Linked DNA regions of Homo sapiens: regions 2, 3 and 4 are each linked to region 1. Evidence: promoter capture Hi-C in 16 types of primary human blood cells and fetal thymus (Javierre and others, 2016). All regions are on one chromosome and are shown on one strand. The core of a region is centred on a gene start or on the middle of the fragment in contact, and the rest is flanking DNA. Distances in the headings are between cores, read along the strand shown.

Region 1 (5,651 bases), core at 1,531-4,030:
TTCAAGCTATTCTCCTGCCTCAGCCTCCCGAGTAGCTGGGATTACAGGGACCTGCCACCATGCCCGGCTAATTACATTTTTTTTTTTTGAGATGAGGTCTTGCTATGTTGCCCAGGCTGTAGAGCAGTGGCTATTCACAGGCGCACTCTTAGCACCCTATAGCCTGGAACTCCTGGGCTCAAGCAATCCTGTCACCTCAGCCTCCCAAGTAGCTGGAACTACAGGTGTGCACCTCTGCACCTGGCTGTCTCCTTACCTTTTTTTTTTTTTTTGGCAGCATTTTTTAAAGTAGATTATTGGTTGGGCGCAGTGGCTCACACCTGTAATCCCAGCACTTTGGGAGGCCAGGGCAGGCGGATCACTTAAGACCAAGAGTTTGAGACCAGCCTGGCCAACATGGTGAAACCCTGTCTCTACTAAAAATACAAAAAATTAGTTGGGCATGGTGGTGCATGCCTGTAGTCCCAGCTACTCAGGAGGGTGAAGCGTGAGAATTGCTTGAACCCAGGAGGTGGAGGTTGCAGTGAGCTGAGATTGCGGCACTGCACTCCAGCCTGGGTGACAGAGCGAGACTGTCTTGAAAAGAAAAGAAAAATAAAGTAATTACTTTTGTTTTATTGATGAATAATAGATGTACCAAGTTTCAGGGTACATGTGACAATTTAATACATTCATATAATTTGTAAAGATCAAATAAGTGTATCTGGAATATTCATCACCTTAAATATTTGGCTTTTCTTTATGCTAGAACCATTTGAATTCTTCTCTTCTAGCTATTTTGAAATGTAAAATAGCTTATTGTAAGCTATAGTCACCCTACTGATCTACTAAGTCTTATTTCTTCTATCAAACTATATATTTGTACCCATTGATCAATTTATCTTCATCCCTCCCACTCCCTTCCCCCTTACATTCTTTTTATTCTTTTTTTTTTTTCTTTTTTTTCTTGAGACATTGCTTCACTCTTGTTGCCCAGGCTAGAGCGCAGTGGCACGATCTCGGCTCACTGCAACCTCCGCCTCCCAGGTTCAAGCAATTCTCCTGCCTCAGCCTCCCGAGTAGATGGGATTACAGATGTCCATCACCATGTCCGGCTAATTTTTTGTATTTTTAGTAGAGACGGGGTTTCACCATGTTGGCCAGGCTGGTCTCGAACTCTTGACCTCAGGTGATCCACCTGCCTTGGCCTCCCAAAGAACTGGGATTACAGGCATAAGCCACGGTGCCCAGCTTTTTTTTTTTTTTTTTTTTTTTTTTGAGACAGTCTCACCCTGACACCCAGGCTGGTGTGCAGTGGCACGACCTTGGCTCACTGCCACTTTTGCCTCCTGGGTTCAAGCGATTCTCCTACCTCAGTCTCCTTTGTAGCTGGGATTACAGGCGTGCGCCACCATGCCCAGCTAATTTTGGTATTTTTAGTAGAGATGAGGTTTCACCATGTTGGCCAGGTTGGTCTCGAAATCCAGACCTCAATCCATCCGCCCGCCTCAGCTTCCCAAAGTGCTGGGATTACAGGCATGAGCCACTGCGCCCAGCCTCCCCTTACATTCTTAACCTTGGGGGTGACACAGATAGATCAGCTCCAGGGAGTTATCCAGGTAACTGGAAAGACACGCTAAGGTTCTTAATGTCTACATCTAAACTATCCCAGACTCAATATCTTGCAAAATCCATACTCTAGCCATCCATCGAACAGGATTGCTAAAGAAGAAATCAGATGTAATGTCTAAATAAATCAGCCCCTTGGCACCAGAGAAATAAATTATGGAGTTGGGTGGGGTATCCAAGCCCTCCGGGTCGCATACCACCAGCACACTAGGGGAGAAGTCTACTCACTATTCTCCACTGTAGGATCGTAGCCTTCCGAGAACTCGCCTTCCACAAATTGATGTGCCAAAGATGTCTTCCCTGTGGGGAGCAGTGTGACAGTTGTATCCAAATCATCCATCCACATTCACATCCTCTGTCCTTTCGGACTGTGGCCCAGGACCAAAGGAGACCCCAAATTAACACCACAGTCTGTGAGTGCCTCAAGCAATGCTATCCTTTGTGTCTACCCTCACCCTCTTTTCACCCAGGGTCTCCGCACTTTGGCTACCGGATGCATTCAGAAGCGCAGCAGGAAGCCTTTCCCGCCGCCTTCCCCACCCCATCCCACTCGTAGGAAGATCCAAGATTCCCTAGGATCAAGTCCGCCCCGCCCCAGGACACCTGCGACTATCTGTCCCCACGGAGACCGCGTCCCGGTTTTCAAATTGTGACCCCACCCCTATCCCCAAAGTAACGCTGGGACCACTCTGAGATTCCCGCAGCCAGGTCCGCATTAACCCTTAAGTGCTCCCGCTTCCTGCAGCCTCCACACACCACCAACTCTTCCAATCCTCCACTCTTCCATTCCTCCACTCTTCCAATCCTCGCTCTACAACCCCATCCTTACGATGTCATCATTCCTCCCTGGGTCGCGTTCCCACGGCAGCGCGCCTCTTCTGGCTACAAAGCTGCTGCGCGTCCGAGCTCTGCAGGGCGGAGACTCACCTACACAGCGGTATCCGAGGATGACCACCTTCCTGTAGCGGACTAGCGGCATGGCAGGAGCCCGCCCCAGGGGCTTGCGGAACTGCGGGCTCAGAGAGCCCGAAAACGAGGTCAGGGTGTGAGCAGGCGCGGCAGCTGGTGCAGGAAAGTCGCTCACCCCGAAGCTGCCGTGGGCAAGTTAGAAGGAAACCAAAACAAGCGCCGCGCCCGGAGCTGCCCACGTGATCACAACACAGCACGTCTAACGCCAGGGAGCCGGGCGCCCGGGGAACTACTGAGCCGCGCCGCGCCGGGCTCCGCCCCCCAGGCCGCTCGCCATTGGTCCATTAGAATGGGTAAGGGCGGTGCCGCCAGCAGGAGGGAAGGGTGGGCCTCACGTGGAGCGGGAGAACTGGGAGCTGCGCGTGCGCAGACTGGAGCCGGTTCATTCATAAAGAAACAGAAAGGAACCCGGGGTCCTAAAGGCGTTTGCGCATTTACAGCCTAGCTGAAGTGGCTTCGAAGAATTATGGATGGAAAATACCCGTTTTGTGGTTTCCGGTCATAAGATTCTAGCCCTCCCTTTTGCATGGTCTCTGGGGTCCTTAGATAGGGAGAAAACCGCCAAAGTTCTAGTATATTCCTTCTGCTTCCCCCAGCCTTCAGCCCCAGACCTATCAAGGTTTCCAGTCTTCCAGCATCTAATTTCAAACTGCAATTCTTATTCTTGCAGAAATTGCTAGAATTTATGATCAAGTAGTCTGAGGTTTCTTCTTCATCATCATGATCCTCAAATATTCATTTTTCAACAAATACTGAGTATATACTACATGTTTCAGGCATTGCTCCAGCTTTGGGGTCAGAACATGGACATCACAGACAATGTGTCTGCTCTTATGAAGGGAGAAACAAACATACAACAAGGAAATATCAGAGAGTGTTAAGTGCTGTAGAAGATGGTGTGATGAAAGATGACCACTTTATTTTTTTTATTTTTTTATTTTTATTTTTATTTTTTTTGAGACGGAATCTCGCTCTTTCTACCAGGCCGGAGGGCAGTGGCTCTATCTCGGCTCACTGCAAGCTCCGCCTCCCGGGTTCACGCCATTTTCCTGCCTCAGCCTCCAGAGTAGCTGGGACTACAGGCGCCCGCCACCGCGCCCGGCTAATTTTTTGTATTTTTAGTAGAGACGGGGTTTCACCGTGTTAGCCAGCATGGCCTCCATCTCCTGACCTCGTGATCCGCCCGCCTCGGCCTCCCAAAGTGATGGGATTACAGGCGTGAGCCACCGCGCCCGGCCGACCACTTTATTTTTTAAAGACAATACAGCATTTTTAATTTTTTTTCTTTATTTATTTTGAGACAGGGTTATGAGACTGGCTAATTTTTGTATTTTGGGGAGAGATGGGGTTTTGCTATGTTGCCCAGGCTGGTCTCGAACGCCTAGCCTCAAGTGATCCACCTGACCCGGCCTCCCAAAGTGCTGGGATTACAGACGTGAGCCACCGAGCCTGGCTGAGATGACCACTTTAGTGATACTTTCTCTCATAGGAAACCCCATTTAAACTAAGATCTGAAGGAACCAACTAGGAGATTTCACAAGAAGAATCCACCAATGCTAAGGCGTTAAGATGGAAATAAATTGGGTAAATTCCAGGAAGAGGGGAAGAAAAAAAGAAAGCCAGTTAGCCTAAAGCAGATGAAGTCTAAGAGAATGGCAGAGGCCAGGCCACATAAAGGAGTCTGGGCTAATTCTAAGTACTTGAAGGTATTTAAGCTGGGGCATGACATGATCTAAATTGTCTTTCTAAAAAATCTCCCTGGCTGTAGTGAATAGATTGGGGTTTGAGGGTAACAGGAGCAAAAGGAAGCAGGGAGATTGGCGAGGAAACTGTTACCTGTAGTCCAGGTGAGAGATGAGAGCGCTTGACTAGAGTGATCATGTTGAATGAAGTTGAGAATTCAGGATATTCTGAAGCTAAGGTTAAAATGACTTGTGGAAGGATTGGTAGAGGAGGGAAGAAAGGAAGGAAATCACCTAGATTTATAGAGAGTTCGACTATACTATGTGCCAGGTGCATTTTATTGTTATCTCATTTAATATTCACAAAAGCCCTAGGCCGGGCATGGTGGCTCATGCCTGTAATCCCAGCACTTTGGGAGGCTGAGGTGGACGGATCGCTTGAGGTCGGGAGTTCGAGACCAGCCTGTCCAACATAGTGAAACCCCGTCTCTACTAAAAATACAAAAATTAGCCGTGCGTGATGGTGCATGCCTGTAATTCCAGCTACTCAGGAGGCTGAGGCAGGAGAATCGTTTGAACACGGGAGGCAGAGGTTGCAGTGAGCCGGGATTGCACCATTGTACTCTGCACTCCAGCCTGGGAGACAGAGTGAGACTCCATCTTAAAAAAATATATATATATATATATATATATATTCATCTTCTACTTTGTGCCAGGCACTCTTACTATGTGTTGCACACTAGGATACAGAAATAAATAACAGATGCCTTTTATACTGCTTGTCCCGTCCATATGAACTCTCCATTCTTTTCCACCCAGATTTATGTCCAGGAGGCAGACCTTGTCTCCTGGCTTTCAGTGAAGCTCAGCCAAAGGAAAGCACACACAGAAGATTCAATGGACAGAGGAGAGTGGCTCTGTCCCCCATTGAAGGTCACAGTACCTCTCAAGGCAGCTGCCTCCTCCAACACACACACACACAGCTCTCTCCTGGTTTTCAGTGACTCCCCTCAGCCTTTATGCCTATAGCAGTATCAGCCTCTTTTCTGTTATTCACCTTGGGGCATTGCTCTATCTGTTGTGGTCTCCCTATACCCTGCCCACATCTTTGTAAATAGTCTCTTTATTAAACCATCTGAATTCTCCTGTTTTGAATCAGAGAGAAAGCAAAAGAGCCAAGGCAAAGGGCTTTCTCCTCTTGTGACTTTTTCTTTTTACCTGGTAAGGGAAGCTCTCACAGCAGATATTCACCTACATCTCATTGAACAAGATTGTTTTATATAGTCATTTCTAGTTGTAAGGGAACCTGGAAATTTTAGCATTTTCTTTTCCAATGTCTATAGTAAAGGAAGGCAAAAGACAATGTGATTATAAATAAATGTTTTGGCCTGA
Region 2 (5,651 bases), core at 1,088-3,587, 210 kb after region 1:
ACGTCTTAAATTTTTTTTCTTTGAGATGGTCTCTTTCCCAGGCTGCAGTGCAATGGCACCATCATAGCTCACCCCCACCTTGACCTGGGCTAAGCCATCCTCCCACCTCAGCCTCCCAAGTAGCCAGGACTACAGGTGTGTTCCACCATGCCTGGCTGATTCTTGTAATTTTTTTTTTTTTTTTTTTTTTTTTTTTTGGTAGAGATGGGGTTTTGCCATGTTGCTTAGGCTGGCCTTGAACTCCTGGGCTCAGGCAATCCTGCCTCAGCCTCCCAAAGTGCTGGGATTACAGGAGTGAGCCACTACACCTGGCCCCTAGATACGTTTTTTAATAACCTCCCAAATGATGCTGTTGGTCTGATGTGACCACATGTACAGTAGCAAAGGGTTAGATAACAGTAACTGCTGGAGCCAAAATTCAAGTGCCCAGCCACACTGCCAGAACTATTGCTGTCAGTCTTTAATAAAGTATTAGTCACACGAGAAGGGCTTGGAATCCTGATTTATTCCATACTTAGCTAAGACCTACAGTGGCAAAGATGGTTCGTACTAAAGGGGTTATTGTTTAGAGAAAGTGGAAATGTCAGACAAAATAACAGTCACCGGTTTTTCTGGTATTGGCATTTGACCCAATTGTATGTCATGGAGATTATTTGAAGTAGGAGTAATATGTATGTGTAGGAAAGATTGGAGAGGGGTGAGTTCTCTGATTTGGACTTTTTTCCAAGCACCTGTTGGAGGACCGTGGTTCTTGGGGGCAGACGGGTGAAGGGGCATGAGTGTTATACGTAGCTGGAGAGCTTGGTGCCTGGTACTCAGTTGAACTAAGCAATGGGAAAGGACAATGACCAAAAGGTGAAGCTTCATGCAGAAGGGAGGAATCAGTTTTGGTGCTTGGGTGCTTGCCTGAGTGGGAATGCCTAATGAGTGGTAGCAGATGGGCCCTGGGGGCAGAGTTGCAGGCATACTCACCTCTCCTCCGTGACTTACTTTATTCTGATGTGTACCCAGTTACCATCTCTTTCCCAAAGGTGTTTTGTATCCCTTACCCATTGCTCACTTTAGCCCCTTTGCTCTGAGAATTGCATCTGAAAGATGTGCATGTTTAAGGCCAGCGCTGGGGTTCACAGCTGCAGTCCCAGCACTCTGGGAGGCCAAGGTGAGAGGATTGCTTAAACCCAAGAGTCTGAGACCAGTGCCTGGGCAAGAGGGTGAGACCCTGTCTATTTTGAGCATTTTTTTGGCCGGGTACCATGGCTCACGCCTGTAATCCCGGCACTTTGGGAGGCTGAAGCAGGTGGATCACTTGAGCTTAGGAGTTCAAGACCAGCCTGGGCAATATGGTGAAACCCCATCTCTACTAAAAATACAAACAATTAGCTGGGCATGGTGGTGCACGTCTGTGGTCCCAGCTGCTTGAGAGGCTGAAGTGGGAGGATTGCTTGAGCCTGGGAGGTGGAGGTAGCAGTGAGCTGAGATCGTGCCACTGCCCTCCAGCCTAAGGGACAAAAAATTTTTTTCCCTTAAATTTTTTTTTATGTCTCAAATTTTTTTAAATGTATATATTATACCTGCGTGCATAGCACAGCATGCTTTTGCAGCCTGAGATGCCTCAACTATGTGCTCTGGATGGTTTTATATAGCATTTGTCGAGAGCAACCATAGTTTTATGTCCTTCGGGGCAAGGTAAGACCCCAGCACAAATTCAGCCACTGCTACTTCTCAGATGAGCCAGGTTCTTCCTGCAGCCTGGGCAGGGGAGCGGGGTGGGATGCCTGAAATGAAGGTGAACCTTGAAGACGCTGGCTAGCCTGCCAGAGGGGATTTTGAGACCTTCCCAGGCCAGGAGATCTGCTGATTGCCATAGTGCAAGCACTGGAGGAAATGGGAATGGGACACCCGTGTATGAAAAGGAGCAGATAAATCACAAAGCTTAGGCGAGTGTGACACCCCATGACACCAGCATTTCCCAAGCAGGGTGCCCTGAGAATAGGATTCAGGGTGCCCATATAGGATCCCTTCGGCTTTTAGAATGACATGGTGGAAACTGGAGAGCCTGACTCACCCATCCTCCCTGGGGCCAGTCACCCTGGCCAGGAGTAGCCCCCTCCATTTACCTCTGTACACCTTACAGATGAATTATTTTCTACATGTGCCAAGATGTGAAAAAGGTTGGAAAGCTTTAAGCAGCCACAGAGGTCTGGGGTGAAAGAAGGTGAGAGAAAAGTTTAGCTGAGAAGAAATATTCCAGTAGAATAAAGCCTGGGGAATTGGAAGAGCAAAGTGCCAGTGGTTGGGGGGGCATTTGTCCTTGTAAAGATGATTTCCCCCTCCTGCGTTGGAGGGAGAGTGAATAGAAGTTAGCCTGCAGCAAGAACAAATATACCCCAAGGTCTAGGTCACTGCTTTGTGGCTGACAATCATCTGATCTGCCCTTGAGCACGAATGGAAAGTCTGGACCCAGAGCTGCGACTGATGCTGATGCTGAGGCCGCTGAAGCTTGATGGGAATAAATGCACACAGCCTAAGAGGATTCGGGCTCCTGAGGCTGGCGGCAGCCCCAGGTCCGGCTGTGTGGACAGAGGGCTTAGTCTGCCCTCACCTAACCTGGCCAGAGGAGCAACCTGCTTCCCCCCACAGAGGCCGCTGACCACTGAGAGGTTAGCATGTCTGGGCAGAGGTGTTTTGGGCAGGGATGAGAAGGGGGATAATGACTTTGAGGGGCTAAGGGCCTGCCTGTCCACCTGTCATTCTGTGTTTGGGAAGCAGCTGGCAAGTGACTCTTCTCCAGCAGGAATCTGTCAGGCCAGAGGATGGCCAAGTGGGTTATGCAATTACAAATCAGTCTTCAGGCCTCTGCTGGAAGGTGGTGTGGCAGTCCTGGGTGAGGCTGAAGGAGGTCAGGGGAGGCGCTGTCAGGGTGGGAGGAAAAGGTGCCTTCACAGTTTCCACAGTACCCTGGGAGGTGATGTTATTATACCCACTTCCATAGCTCACAGAGATTGAATATCTAGCCTAAGGCTACAGAATGAGTGGCAGAACTGAAATTTTACCGCAGAGCTCTGGCTCTAAAGCCTAGGCTGACTCCACTCTGTCGTCCAGCCATCGAGGAGCTCCAGAGGAAATCGGCTCTGCACCTGGCAGCCTTTCCAGTCCTGGGGGGATAGTGCCACCTCCCAGGACCCTTGGGGCATGAGGTCAACAAGGGCCAGCCCTCACATGAGCACTGGATGGAGCTGTAGTCACAGAGAGATCTCATTATGCCAGTGATTGTCAGAAAACCTCCCAAGAGCCCCGTTCCTGGGCCCAGGTGGCAGCCCATTGACCTTAAATAGCAAAGCCAGCTGGTCCCCATGTCCAGGCTGTAGCTTCCCTAGTGAGGGGGCATTTTTGTCCAGGCCTCCCTCTGAACTCAGTTCTCAGGTCACGGGGAGATACAGTGCCCTTGCAGGATGGCTGCTGCCACCTGCCTGGTCTCCTGCCAACAGGGACACCAGCTGAGGCACAGGCAGGACAGTGTACACCTGGAGCCTCGCTCCTCTATGCTCCAGGGCCAGAGTGGTCAGTGCCCGTCAGCTGAGGCGGCAAGGTGAAGCTGGCAGAGATGACCCAGGCAGATGGCTCCAGGAGCCCAATGCCAGGGCGACTATCTAGGAGACACAAGGCAGCAGAAGCTGAAGAGAAAATAGACCCTTGGGTGTGGGGGCTGTGGAGCAGGAGTGGGCCCTCGCCCCGTGAAATAGGTCCCCTTTGCTGACATCTCATTAGCCTGTCACTGCCCCTTTCATGCCAAGAACCTAGTGCCCCTGAATTTGTCATTGTCAGCCCCAAGCAGGTTTTGGGAAAACAGTTCTTTCCTCCTCTACACTCCCTCCGAGTCTACAGCAGGAGAGCAATAGTCAGAATCAATGAACCTTCCAGAACTAGAGACATGTCTGCTTTAGTCATAATACAAAAAATGCTTTTAAACAGTCGTCTCCCTACTGGACTTTTTTTTCTCTCTCTCTCTTATTTATTTATTTATTTATTATTTTTGAGACAGTCTGTCTCTGTCGCCAGGCTGGAGTGCAGTGGTGTGATCTCAGCTCACTGCAACCTCCGCCTCCCGGGTTGAAGTGATTCTCCTGCCTCAGGCTCCCAAGTAGCTGGGACTACAGGCATGTACTACCACGCCCAGCTAATTTTTGTAGTTTTGGTAGAGACAGGGTTTCATCATGTTGGCCATCTCCTGACCTTGTGATCCGCCCGCCTTGGCCTCCCAAAGTGTTGGGATTACAGGCGTGAGCCACCGCGCCTGGCCTTTTTTTTTTTTAATTGGAACAGACTATAAAGGTTTTACAGAATATAAAGATTTCCTAATTACACAAAGATTTTGTCTACAGAAATTAGTTTAACTCATGGAAGAGGGTGGGTATAAATTCAACCCCACTCTCTCTCCCTTCACCCTCTCTGCACACTTCTCTATTTTTTTTTTTTTTTTTTTTTTTTTTTTGAGACGGAGTCTCTCTCTGTCGCCCAGGCTGGAGTGCAGTGGCGGGATCTCGGCTCACTGCAAGCTCCGCCTCCCAGGTTCACGCCATTCTCCTGCCTCAGCCTCCCAAGTAGCTGGGACTACAGGCGCCCGCCACTACGCCCGGCTAATTTTTTGTATTTTTAGTAGAGACGGGGTTTCACCGTTTTAGCCGGGATGGTCTCGATCTCCTGACCTCGTGATCCGCCCGCCTCGGCCTCCTAAAGTGCTGGGATTACAGGCGTGAGCCACCGCGCCCGGCCACACTTCTCTATTTTTATCAAATATCTCATTTGGCTTCCAAGAGATGTCTAGTCCAAGAGTAAACAAATACTGAAATGCCCTTGGCAAAGGTAATCCAATTATACTATTCTGGCAATCATCTCCAGTTTTTTGTTTGTTTTTCTTTCTTTCTTTTTTTTTTTCCAATACAGAGTCTTGCTCTGTCACCCAGGCTGGAGTGCAGTGGTGCCATCTCAGCTCACTGCAAGCTCCGCCTCTCGGGTTCAAGCAGTTCTCCTGCCTCAGCCTCCTGAGTAGCTGGGATTACAGGTACCCGCCACCACTCCTGGCTAATTTTTGTATTCTTAGTAGAGCTGAGGGTTCACCATGTTGGCCAGGCTGGTCTCGAACTCTTGACCTTGTGATCCGCCTGCCTTGGCCTCCCAAAGTGCTGGGATTACAGGCGTGAGCCACCGCACCTGGCCGTTCTTCTTTCTTTCTTTCTTTCTTTCTTTTTTTTAAATTAAGCCTGATACTTGCTAAGTTTATTTTTTTAGAGACTGAGTCTTACTATGTTGCCCAGGCTGGCCTTGAACTCCTGGGCTCAAACACTCCTCCCACTTCAGCCTCCTGTGTAGCTGAGACAACAGCACACCGCACTGGGCTTCATTTTCAACTTTCAAGTTTTATTCGTTCATTATTTTTGCAACACCTGTTTGGTGCAAGTCACTGTGCTGGGTACTATAGGAAATATATTTAGCTTTTTGCTTCTCAGATTGTAGAGACAGACCACACATGCATAATCCCAATTCGAGGCAGCATATGCCACATGTCACAGAAGAGGCTGTCACAGGCAGTAGCCACTGTTGCATAGCTACTTCAAAGCCATTCCCAGCTTGTTCCACCTGCCAACACAACG
Region 3 (5,651 bases), core at 1,765-4,264, 200 kb before region 1:
ACCCTGGGGAAGGAGCAGTAGCGGATTTGGAACCCAGACAATCCGTGCTCAGAATAGCAAGCAGCCCCTCTCCCTGCACCACAATCGCCATGGAAACTGGGGGGAATCCAAGCTGGTGGGGGGATGTTGGTCATTAAAAAAAGGAATACAGGGGAGTTGGGATAGCTGCCTGCTCCTTCAGCAAGCCTCCTCCATCCCTTTCTGAGGTGGGGTCTTACCACTGCAGCACTGAGGAGCGGAAGCACTGCAGCACTGGGGAAGGGGGAGGGGAGGAGGCCTCCATTTTGGCTCCAAGCAATCCCCCTCCCCTAAGACTAGCAAGTAAATAATGGGAACAGGGTCAACCCTGAGCCCAACATTGGGAAACCCTATCCCACACACCATGGCCACTTCCTCCTTCCTTATGGGAACCTAATCTGAAAGAGGGAGTTTGAGAATAACTGACAGCCTTTATCCTTTCGGAAATTGGGGGTGGGGGTGTGACACAGGGAACAGAGACTACACTTGCTGATTTTCCATGATCTGGTTTGGGATTTGAGGGCTGCATTCTGACTGTCAAAGGAGGGAGGAGGTGGGGGGAGGGCGTTTGGGCGGTGGTAGTGAAAAGAGATGAGCTGCAGTAAGATTCTGGGAAGATTGGAAGGTGGGAGGGTACAGCAGATGAAAAACCAAAAATTATACATCATGCCATCAAGCTGCATTCTAGCCCAATCTTGCCAGCATAGCACAGCCCAGGAGAACCAGAACGCTGCCTCCCAAGCCCTGAAACTGCAACAGGGAAAAGCATACCAGATTGGGGAATTTTTGTTTGGGGAGGAAAGGCTCATTGTCTGTCTAACCATTCCCTAGCCCCAATCTTTTCAGACCTCAGAATTAGAGCATGGGAACAACAGCTGTTGAAGGAGCAGGACAGCATATTTATTATATGTAGCAGGAAACACCTAGTGATTTACGGTCCCTTTTTAAACTCAGCCTGAATATGCATTTTTGGGGAGGGGTGGATTTTATTTTCTTTCTCTTATTCCCGGCTTTTACTCCTTAATTATGACTCTGAGCCAGTCTATTGAAAAAGGTCTGGGGTAAAGAGATAATGGGAAGGGGTCAGAATCAAGGCAAAGGATAGCCTAGCACTAAGGGCTTGGGGCTGAGAGGCTGGAAAAACATTGTTTCTACATTCTAGAGAGACAGGGCATATTCTACCTCACCCCAGTAGAGGGAAAACAGTCAGAGCCAACCTCCCCTCTGCCCTGCCGGCCACTATTCACAACTGACTATGCCCTATATTAAGCCATCTCCCCCAACTTCCAAAACATCGATGATGCATTGCTTCATCCCCGAGCTGCAGCGGTGTGACGAGTGGGGCTGAGCTGCGGCAGGAGGACAGCAGTGGCCCAAGATGGAATGCAGGAGACAAAACTGAGTCTGAGCAACCTTTCCCCAAAGCAGACTTGTCTCTCCGCCCCAACCACGCTGCCTCCAGCAGCACTGCCTCTTGCCTCTTATTTGGCTTTGCTCTGGGGAAGTAAAAGGTGTGTGTGTGTGTGTGTGTGTGTGTGTGTGTGCGCGCGCGCGCGTGTGTGTGCATGTGTGTACGCGTGCATGTTGGGTGGTAGGGAATGGAAATGGAGAAGTCCTGTTTTACTGCCCACCCCCAGGACTATTCATGGGTCCCTTCACCTCACCATCCCAGCCCTCTAAAGGGTGGAACCAGACCCAGGGAAGAGAGTGGCTCCTGGGGTTCACCCACTCTGCACCCTTGGACCATGCAACTGAGTCCACCAACTGTCAGCCCTCCCCACAACTAATGAGTCTTCAGATCCTCTTTTTTCACTTCTCCCCACCAAAGGGGAAAACAATTTCTAAAAGACAGCAGCTACACAGCAGACCAGTAGGGGTGGGAAAGGGGTATTTGGAGCAGAATTCTTACCTGAGGTATCCCAGAGACTAAGCTCCACCCTCTGTTCCTCTGTCTCCAAACAGGCTGTGTAATTTTCGAACACGGTGGGCACATAGGTCTGTGAAAAGAGAGGAAACATTCACCCCATGCACCCCTACCCTCAGATCCCCTGGTTAGTGCTGGCTACACACGCACTCACCAGAGAGACAGTAAAGTCACAGGAGACAAGAAACCAGAGGAGATGCCTGGGGCAGGAGGGAAGGGACTGTGGAGGACCAGGCACTTTGCTCTGCAGCAGTGAGAAATGTGAATGACACCCCCCCACACCACCACACCAGGGGTAAGCCCCCCATATCCTAGGCGATCAGGGACACACACACACACAGATTCCTCCCATCCCCAGATTTGTGTTTCCCAATTTGAGAGAGCCACAGGCCAAAGCCAATCCTAGCTCATCTCCTCTCAAACCCCTCCCGGCCAGGTGAACAGAGGGGCTGCAGAAGCCTGCCTGAAGGCACAGGCATAGAGCCTTTGAGGAGCAGGTGAGCGGATAGGCAGGGATTACGTCAAGAAGAAACCCCAGACTTTCAAATGCCTCCAGTGCCCTCACCTGAGAGCAGACTCCAGGGACGCAGGAAGGTGGAGGGGATCTGATGGGTCCTCTGGGTGAAGAGGTGAGGAGGAGCCAGCGGGGCGGCAGAAGTGGAACAGGTCTCAGGGGAAGCTAAGGCAGGGCAGTCCTCCAGCCAAAAAGCAGCTGAGGATGGTAAAGCCTCAGAAAGCGGCTGAGGATGGGCTGGGGCTGGGGGAGCCACGTCTCCTGAGCAGGTGGAAATCTACCCCAAGGCGGGCAGGCAGGGAGAAAAGCCGGCCAGCGGGCGGGCGGGCAGCTCACCTCTGGATAGCAATCCTTCGCTAACACTTGCAACATCGCGGTCTTCCCACACTGCACGTCCCCGACCAGAACGAGCTTACATCTGGCCACGACTGGCTGGGGGGCCCGTCTCTCCTTCATGGTTGCAGTGTCCGCGGGACTTGAACTTCGATTCAGAAGGGAGGGTTGCGCCAGGTGCGTCTCAGCACGCCAATCAAGCCAGATTCCCTGCCTCCCTCCAACTGAGGAGGAGGCCGGCACAGCCGCCTTTTATTTTTCTGGCTGAGCCAATCACAAGAGGAGGCGGACTCTGTTACGCCCAATCCCTGAGGTGGGATTCCCTCCAGCAGCCAATGGATCTGAGGATCTGAGTCAGCGCCCCCTTCCTCCCTTCTCTTTCTCTTAAAGCTGCACCGTTGTTTCCCCCTGAAAGGGGATTCCCAGGTTGTTTTGCATTTGTATTAGGAAGTGGAAAGGGTACTGGAAGCAAAATGAAATGATCTGGAGTGTCTACCAATAAGTGTCAGAAAAACAAACTAGCTATGGAAGCAGGAAGTGAGGTCAGGCTGGAGTTGCAGGGACTGTCCCGGGTGGGTTACAAAAGCAGGACCTGCTTAGACTATAGACAGGTGTGTGTGTGTGTGTGTGTTTTGGAGGAGTAGGGGATGGGGGAGGTGGCCCAGAACTTCTCTGACATTTTTTTTCTTTTTTTTCCTTACATCTTTTGTTTTAAATAGAGACAGGGGTCTCACCATGTTATCCAGGCTGGTCTTGAACTTCTGGGCTCAAGCAATCCGCCTGTCTCAGCCTCCCAAAGTGCTGGGACTACAGACATGAGCCACAGCGCCTGGCCTGATGTCTGACTTTTTTGTTTTTTCTAATTCCCATCCAAACCAGTTCTTACTTCCCTTTATTTCCCCTCCCAATATCAGCTCCTGCTGTACCTCTTTTATTTATTTATTTATTTATTTATTTATTTATTTATTTATTTATTTATTTATTTTGAGATGGAGTTTCGCTCTTGTTGCCCAGGCTGGAGTGCAATGGCACGATCTCAGCTCACTGCAACCTCCATCTCCCGGATTCAAGCGATTCTCCTGCCTCAGCCTCCCGAGTAGCTGGGATTACAGGCATGCACCACCATGCCCAGCTAATGTTGTATTTTTAGTAGAGACGGGGTTTCTCCATGTTGGTCAGGCTGGTCTCGAACTCCCGACCTCAGGCGATCCGCCCGCCTTGGCCTCCCAAAGTGCTGGGATTATAGGCGTCAGCCACCGTGCCCGGCCTGTGCCCCTTTTAAAGCCTTCTCTTCTTCAAGAATCACCTTCACCACCAAAGACAGAGAGAGAGAAAGAGAAAGAGAAAACTTTCTAGAGTCATCCATAAAAAAAACACACAGCACCTGACCCAGTGATGGGCAGAGAGAAATGAGGGACTCTGGCAAGTGGGGGTGGGAGAGAGGAAGAAGACAAAGCAAACACAGTCACTGTTTGGCCAGACAGCCTCTCACCCATGCCTAGCAGAAGCTGCTTAGGGGTGTTTGTTCTGCGGCCTAGGCTCAGCTTCCTGGATGAATCAGGCACAGGTCCAGTTCCATGTTAACGCCCACTGAAACTGACGCACTAATGTGTGTCACCTGGTTAAAGTCCAGACTGGGCCCAGGATTTTGGGATTAGAAGCTGGAGGACAATCTAAGGTTGAGATGAACTACATAAATTTTTTTTTTTTTTTTTTTTGAGATGGAGTCTCGCTCTGTTACCCGGGCTGGAGTGCAGTGGCTTGATCTCAGTTCACTGCAACCTCTGCCTCCCGGGTTCAAGCAATTCTCCTGTCTCAGCCTCCCGAGTAGCTGAGACTACAGGCGCACGTCACCATGCCTGGCTAATTTTTGTATTTTCAGTAGAGACAGGGTTTCACCATATTGGTCAGGCTGGTCTCAAACTCCTGACCTTAAGTGATCCACCCACATCGGCCTCCCAAAGTGCTGGGATTACAGGCGTGAGCCACCGCGCCCAGCCGAGCTTCATAACTTCTTAACAGCCCTGACTGATGGGGCCCCTGTATTTTGGGGAGCCTCTACTAGACAGAACTATGGGCTGTCCACAGCTTAAATAAACCACTGATTGTCCAGGAATCAAGACCGTACAAATAAGGGCTCCTGGAGATTTGTGATTGAAGGAAGACCAACTTTGGGCAAAATTGAGAGTAGTCCCTTTCCCTTGTCAAGCCCAGTGTCTCCTGGGCCTTGTTTCATCTGAGCTTTACTTTTTTTTTTTTTTTATACAGAGTCTTGCTCTTTCACCCAGGCTGGAATGCAGTGCCACAATCTCGGCTCACTGCAAACTGTGCCCGCCGGGTTCAATCGATTCTCCTACCTCAGCCTCCCGAGTAGCTGGGATTACAGGTGCCTGCCACCACACCCAGCTAATTTTTGTATTTTGAGTAGAGATGGGGTTTCGCCATGTTGGCCAGGCTGGTCATAAACTCCTAACCTTAGGTGATCCACCTGCCTCGGCCTCCCAAAGTGCTGGGGTTACAGGCGTGAGCCACTGTGCCCCAGCCTGAGCTTTACTCTTAATTCACAGTTGTTGCTGCCCCACCCAGGGATAGTTTCCCTGTGATAAAGGATGCTTGAAAGCCTTTCACAGACCCAAAGGGACAGATCTCTAAGAATGAGATTTCTAGTGCCCACCACAGGCAGTAGGAGAGTGGATGTTGTTTTGAGAATACAGCCTAACCAGTGTTCCTCCAGTCAAACCTCGTCGTGGCTCTGGGGCCAAGGCCTATACCTGCTCTCCACCCATGTCCTAAGCTCCATTCACTTCCAGGGATGGGGAATGGCCTGAGGGAAACTTCAGGGTGGAAAGGCCAGATGTTACC
Region 4 (5,651 bases), core at 1,178-3,677, 190 kb after region 1:
TCTCACTATGTCGTCCAAGCTGGTCTTGAATTCCTGGACTCAAGCGATCTTCCTGCTTCTGCCTCCCAAAGTGGCCTATAATTTTATTTGAACAGTAACTCAAACTGGTACTGAAACTAGAGTTCAGTCCCAATTTGTCTAAACAAAAGAAAGTGAAGGGTCAAGAAAAAGGGTTAAATTATGAAGCAAGATCCCAGAGACTGTGAGCAGGAATACAGAACTGGGGCACAGGTGGATAGGACTAGTATTAATAAAATCAGGGACGGGGAGCCCTACAGAGATAGAAGACAGGATAAAAGCAGGAAGGGGAGCCGGGTGCGGTGACTTACGCCTGTAATCCCAGCAGTTTGGGAGGCCGAGGCAGGCGGATCACCTGAGGTCGGGATTTCGAGACCAGCCTGACCAACACGGAGAAACCCCGTCTCTACTAAAAATACCAAATTAGCCGGGCGTGGTGGCGCATGCCTGTAATCCCAGCTACTCGGGAGGCTGAGGCAGGAGAATCGCTTGAACCCGGGAGCTGGAGGTTGCGGTGAGCCAAGATCATGCCATTGCACTCTAGCCTGGGCAACAAGAGTGAAACTCCATCTCAAGAAGAGAAAAGAAAAAATTAGCCGAGTGTCGTGGTGCACGCCTGTAATCCCAGCTACTCAGGAGGCTGAGGCAGAGAATCACTTGAACTTGGGAAGTGGAAGCTGCATCATTGAACCGAGATCATGCCACTGCACTCCAGCCTGGGCAACAGAGCGAGGCTCCATCTAAACAAAAAAAAAAAAAAAAAAAAAAAACGGGAAATGAATTGTCAAATGAGGATATATATAGGGTGAGGTATGGAAGGCTCCTGAGTGCAGCAGCTTCTGTCCTTTGAGTGTAGTGGAGCTGGGGTGCACAACCCTCCTGCAAGTGGATATGTTCTTGTTTACCAGTTTGGAACTCTGGGAACCCGGTAGTTTAGGGATTTTTATGGAGGCTTCATCACGTAGGCATGATCAGTTTTTAACTCAATCCCTAGTCCTTCTCCCCTCCCTGGAGGATGGGGGATGTGGCTAAATTTTCAAGCTTCTAGTCATGACTTTGTCTTTCTGGTGACCAGACCCTATCCTGAAGCTATCCAGCAAGACACCAAGAGACCCTCATTAGTACAAAAGATGCTCCCATCACCCAGGAAGTTCCAAGGATTTAGGAGCTCTGTGTCAGGAACTTGGTGCAGAGGCAAAACACATATATTTTTTTTTTATTTTTTAAGTAGAAACGGGGTCCCTCTGTGTTGCCCAGGGTGGTCTCAAACTCCTGAGCTCAAGTGATCCTACCACTTCAGCCTCCCAAATTGCTGGGATTACAGGCTTGAGCCACTGCACCTGACCTCAGGCTGTTTTAGAGCAAGTCTTATCCTCACACCAAATGCAGATGGAGAAACTCACCCAAAATACAACTACGGACCTTGCCAAGGTTACTCTATTTAATCACACTATAAGCCAGAATTCCTAGTAATTATAATGGCTCTGAGAGTTTACAGTGAATAGTCTAATTCAGTATTTTGTTATTCTAATCTTTACTTTCCTTACTCTGCAGTGCTTTTCCCTTTGTATTTTATCTTGTCCTTGTCTTTAAAGGTCAAAATGATTCTGTTGCTTGCTAAGAAACCAACTACCACTTTCCCCAGCAGCTGAACTTATCTTTAAAAAATATATATATATATATATATATATATTTCTCTGATAGAGGTCTTGCTATGTTGCTCAGGCTGGTCTCAAACCTCTGGACTCATGTGATCCACCCACTTGGTCTTCCAAAGTGCTGGAATTACAGTCATGAACCACTCTACCTGGTAGATTCGTCTTTTCTTTTTGTTTTTCGAGACTGAGTCTCATTCTATCACCCATGCTGGAGTGCAGTGGCGCAATCTCAGCTCACTGCAACCTCCACCTCCCAGGTTCAAGCGATTCTCCATTCTTGTGACTCAGCCTCTGGAGTAGCTGGGATTACAGGCGTCTGCCACCACGCCTGGCTAATTTTTATATTTTTATTAGAGACAGGGTTTCACCATGTTGGCCAGGCTGGTCTGGAACTCCTGACATCACGTGATCCGCCGGCCTCAGTCTCCCAAAGTGCTGGGATTACAGGCGTGAGCCACCACGCCCAGCCAGATTTATCTTTTTAGGCTTCCATAGCAATGTGCTTGAGGCTAGGGCGTGGTGGCTGACATCTGTATTCCCAGCATTTGGGGAGGCTGAGGCCAGTGGGTGTGGTGGCACGTGCCTGTAGTCCCAGCTACTTGGGAGGCCCAGGTGGGAGGATCACCTGAGCCTGGGACGTTGAGGCTGCAGTGAGCTACAGTGGTGCCACTGCACTCCAGCCTGGGTGAGAGAGTGAAACCCTGTCTCAAAAACAAACAAACGAACAACACTAAAAGAAACTAGTGTGCTTGGGGTTAGGCCCTCCTGGCCTTGACCAAAGGCCATGAAACCCCCAATGCAACTGAGCAAGTGAGCATCAGCGAAACAGGCTGTGTAGCTTGTCAGGTGATCTCTGTTCCAGGATAATTTTTTTTTCCTCTGAAACAACTTTGGTTTATTATCAGTCATTTCGTGCAGAGTAAAGAGAAAGAACAGCGTGAATTTAAAATTTGTTTCTTTGTTTTGAACAAAAATTATTTCTTCTTTTTCTTTTCCACAGTGTGTGAACCCAGCTCTGTCCCTTGGGTTCCGTACATATAAATGGAGCAGCTGAGGGAACTGGATAAGAAGTCGATTTTGTAGTTACAGGCTGTTCCGTATCACCCATTTACAAGGTCAGTGGGGACTGAAACTGACCAAAACAGAGAACTATGTACTTTAAAATGAGGAAATCTTTATCTATCAGAAACACACAAAGAACTTTCAGGGGTTCTAAAGGGCTTATATTCCTGACTCCATTGGAACAAAATATGCTGGAGGGTAAGGAAAAAGGTATATGGACTAGAGGATCAAAAACAGCAAAGTGTTGTAAAAACAGAGGCCTGCAAGTGCAGACCCTCATCTGTTAGAACCCTGTTCCAGCCTCCTTCCTTCACTGAATCTCCTGAGGGGTTTGGGGACATTGCAGATTTTGATGATTTGGGGAAATAAACATGTAATTAAAGTTGTAGATATAAAAGTGGTTCTATATTAATGTTCTTGGAGAGAAGACAGTAATTTAGGCCAGGAGCGGTGGTTCACGCCTGTAATCCTAACACTTTGGGAGGCTGAGGCGGGTGGATTACCTGAGATCAGGAGTTTGAGACCAGCCTGGCCAACATGATGAAACCCCGTCTCTACTAAAAATACAAAAATTAGCTCGGCATGGTGGTGGGCGCCTATAATCCCAGCTACTTGGGAGTCTGCGGCAAGAGAATCACTTGAACCCAGGGGGCAGAGGTTGCAGTGAGTCCAGATCAAGCCACTCCATCTCAAAAAAAAAAAAAAAAAGAAGACAGTGGTTTAGAAATGAAGGCCTTAAAGCCAACCTCCTGAGGGAAGGGTTGGGATTCCAAAGAAGGCTGGACTGAAGGCAACATGCGCTGCTGTGTGACCTCAGGGCAGTTCCCAAAGCCAGGCAGCCTCCATTTCCTCTCCTGTAAAATGGAGGTAACAATAGTGTCTACCTCATAGGATTATCGTGAAGAATAAATAAGTTAAAGCATTTAAAATCCTCAGTCCAGGGATGAACACCTAGCATGCAGATACTGGTACTAGCAGTGGAGGGGCTGAGGAATGGGGGCAGGAAGAGGCATTTATTTTTTTTTTAATTTTACGTTTGCAGGCCAGGCGAGGTGGCTCAAGCTTGTAATTCCAGCACTTTGGGAGGCCAAGGTGGGAGGATTACTTGAGGCCAGGAGTTTGAGACAGTCTGGACAACAGCAAGACCCTCTCGCTACAAAAAATACAAAAAATTAGCCAAGCATGGTGGCGCACACGGTAACCTCAGCTATTCAGGAAGCTAAGGCGAGAGGATTGCTTGAGCCCAGGAAGTTGAGGCTGCAGTGAGTCGTGATCATGCCAGCGCACCCCAGCCTGGGTGACAGAGGGAGACCCTGTTTCAAAAAAAATGTTGTACAGCTGTACAATGTGTTTTAAGCTGTGTTATTACAAGAGACAAAAAGTTTAAAAAAAAAAAGTTTACAATTTTTTTTTTTTTTTGAGCAGAGTCTCACTCTACTGCCCAGGCTGGAGTGCAGTGGTACAATCTTGGCTCACTGCAGCCTCCGCCTTCCGGGTTCCAGTGATCCTCCTGCCTCAGCCTCCCAAGTAGCTGAGATTACAGGTATGTGCCACCACATCCGGCTAATTTTTTCTATGTTTAGTAGAGGTGAGGTCTCACCATGTTGGCCAGGCTGATTGTGAACTCCTGACCTCAAGTGATCCGCCCACCTCAGCCTCCCAAAGTGCTAGGATTACAGGCATGAGCCACAGCACCTGGCCTTACAAATTTTTAAAGCTACAGTAAGCTAAAGTTAATTTATCATTGAAGAAGGAAACATGTTTTCAAGTTTAATGTAGCCTAAGTGTCAGTGTTTATAAAGTCTACAGTAGTATACAATAATGTCCTAGGTCAGCTGGGTGCAGTGGCTCCCACCTGTAATCCCAGCACTTTGGGAGGCCCAGGAGGGAGCATCACTTGAGCCCAGGAGTTTGTGAGCAGCCTGGGCAACAGAGTGAGACCTTGTTTTTATAAAAATTATTTATGTTTTGTTTTTTGTTTTTCTTTTTGAGACAGTCTCGCTCTATTGCCCAGGCTGGAGTGAACTGGTGTGATCTGGGCTCACTGCAACCTCCACCTCCCTATTTCAAGCGATTCTCCTGCTTCAGCCTCCCAAGTAGCTGGGATTACAGGTGTGCATCACAACGCCTGGCTAATTTTTGTGTTTTTAGTAGAGATGGGGTTTCGCCATGTTGGTCAGGCTGCTCTCGAACCCCTGACCTCAGGTGATCAGCCCGCCTTGGCCTCCCAAAGTGCTAGGATTACAGGCATGAGCTATCATGCCCGGCTATAAGTAAATAAATAAATAATTCAAAAATGAAATTTTTTTTTTTTTGAGACGGAGTTTTGCTCTTGGTGCCCAGGCTGGAGTGCAATGGCACACTCTCGGCTCACTGCAACCTCCACCTTCCAGGTTCAAACAATTTTCTTGCCTCAGCCTCCCGAGTAGCTGGGATTACAGGCATGTGCCACCACGCCTGGCTAACTTTTTTGTATTTTTAGTAGAGACGGGGTTTCTCCGTGTTGGTCAGGCTAGTCTCGAACTCCTGACCTCAGGTGATCCACCTGCCTCGGCCTCCCAAAGTGCTGGGATTACAGGTGTGAGCCACCGCACCCGGCCAAAAATGAAAAATTTTTTTAAATGTCCTAGGCCTTCACATTCACTTACCACTGACTCACTAAGCAACTTCCAGTCCTGCAAGTTCCATTCATGGTAAGTGCCCTATATAGGTGTGCCATCTTTTATCTTTTATACCATATTTTTACCATAAGTTTTCTATGTTTAGATACAAATACTTTCTTTTTTTTTTTTGAGACGGAGTCTCACTGTGTCGCCCAGGCTGGAATGCAGTGTGCGATCTCGGCTCACTGCAACCTCTGCCTCCCGGGTTCAAGCGATTCTTGAGCCTCAGCCTCCTGTGTAGCTGGCACAC

The links. Contacts are between HindIII fragments. The CHiCAGO score rates a contact against its expected background, and 5 or more counts as called.
Region 2: a fragment that was not itself captured here is called in contact with the fragment with the promoter of RHEBL1 in region 1 in 1 of 17 cell types (M2 macrophages); the score reaches 5.6 in M2 macrophages.
Region 3: the fragment with the promoter of RND1 here is called in contact with the fragment with the promoter of RHEBL1 in region 1 in 2 of 17 cell types (non-activated CD4 T cells and activated CD4 T cells); the score reaches 6.1 in non-activated CD4 T cells.
Region 4: a contact is called between a fragment that was not itself captured here and the fragment with the promoter of RHEBL1 in region 1, in 4 of 17 cell types (monocytes, M0 macrophages, erythroblasts and 1 more). The highest score is 8.2, in monocytes.

What each region holds. Positions count from the first base shown.
Region 1 is chr12:49,067,199-49,072,849 of GRCh38, forward strand. RHEBL1 (RHEB like 1) reads right to left here and starts at 2,781. Exons shown (of 8, transcript NM_144593.3): 1 at 2,536-2,781; 2 at 1,837-1,908. The coding sequence starts at 2,587. RefSeq lists enhancers at 2,495-2,804, 3,175-3,224 and a silencer at 2,825-2,944. The HindIII fragment of the contact is 17,864 bases long and covers 1-5,651 here.
Region 2 is chr12:49,274,118-49,279,768 of GRCh38, forward strand. TUBA1C (tubulin alpha 1c) reads left to right here. Exons shown (of 4, transcript NM_032704.5): 4 at 1-483. Among named protein-coding and RNA genes, the nearest start is that of TUBA1C, 12 kb to the left of the region's middle. RefSeq lists a silencer at 1-163 and enhancers at 4,766-5,357, 5,609-5,651. The HindIII fragment of the contact is 319 bases long and covers 2,179-2,497 here.
Region 3 is chr12:48,862,856-48,868,506 of GRCh38, forward strand. It overlaps RND1 (Rho family GTPase 1), which reads right to left and starts at 3,015. Exons shown (of 5, transcript NM_014470.4): 1 at 2,793-3,015; 2 at 1,928-2,015. The coding sequence starts at 2,912. RefSeq lists enhancers at 2,829-2,948, 3,209-3,338. The HindIII fragment of the contact is 16,374 bases long and covers 1-5,651 here.
Region 4 is chr12:49,253,721-49,259,371 of GRCh38, forward strand. It overlaps a transcript of TUBA1C not described here. Among named protein-coding and RNA genes, the nearest start is that of TUBA1C, 8.5 kb to the right of the region's middle. RefSeq lists an enhancer at 2,740-3,457. The HindIII fragment of the contact is 2,741 bases long and covers 1,058-3,798 here.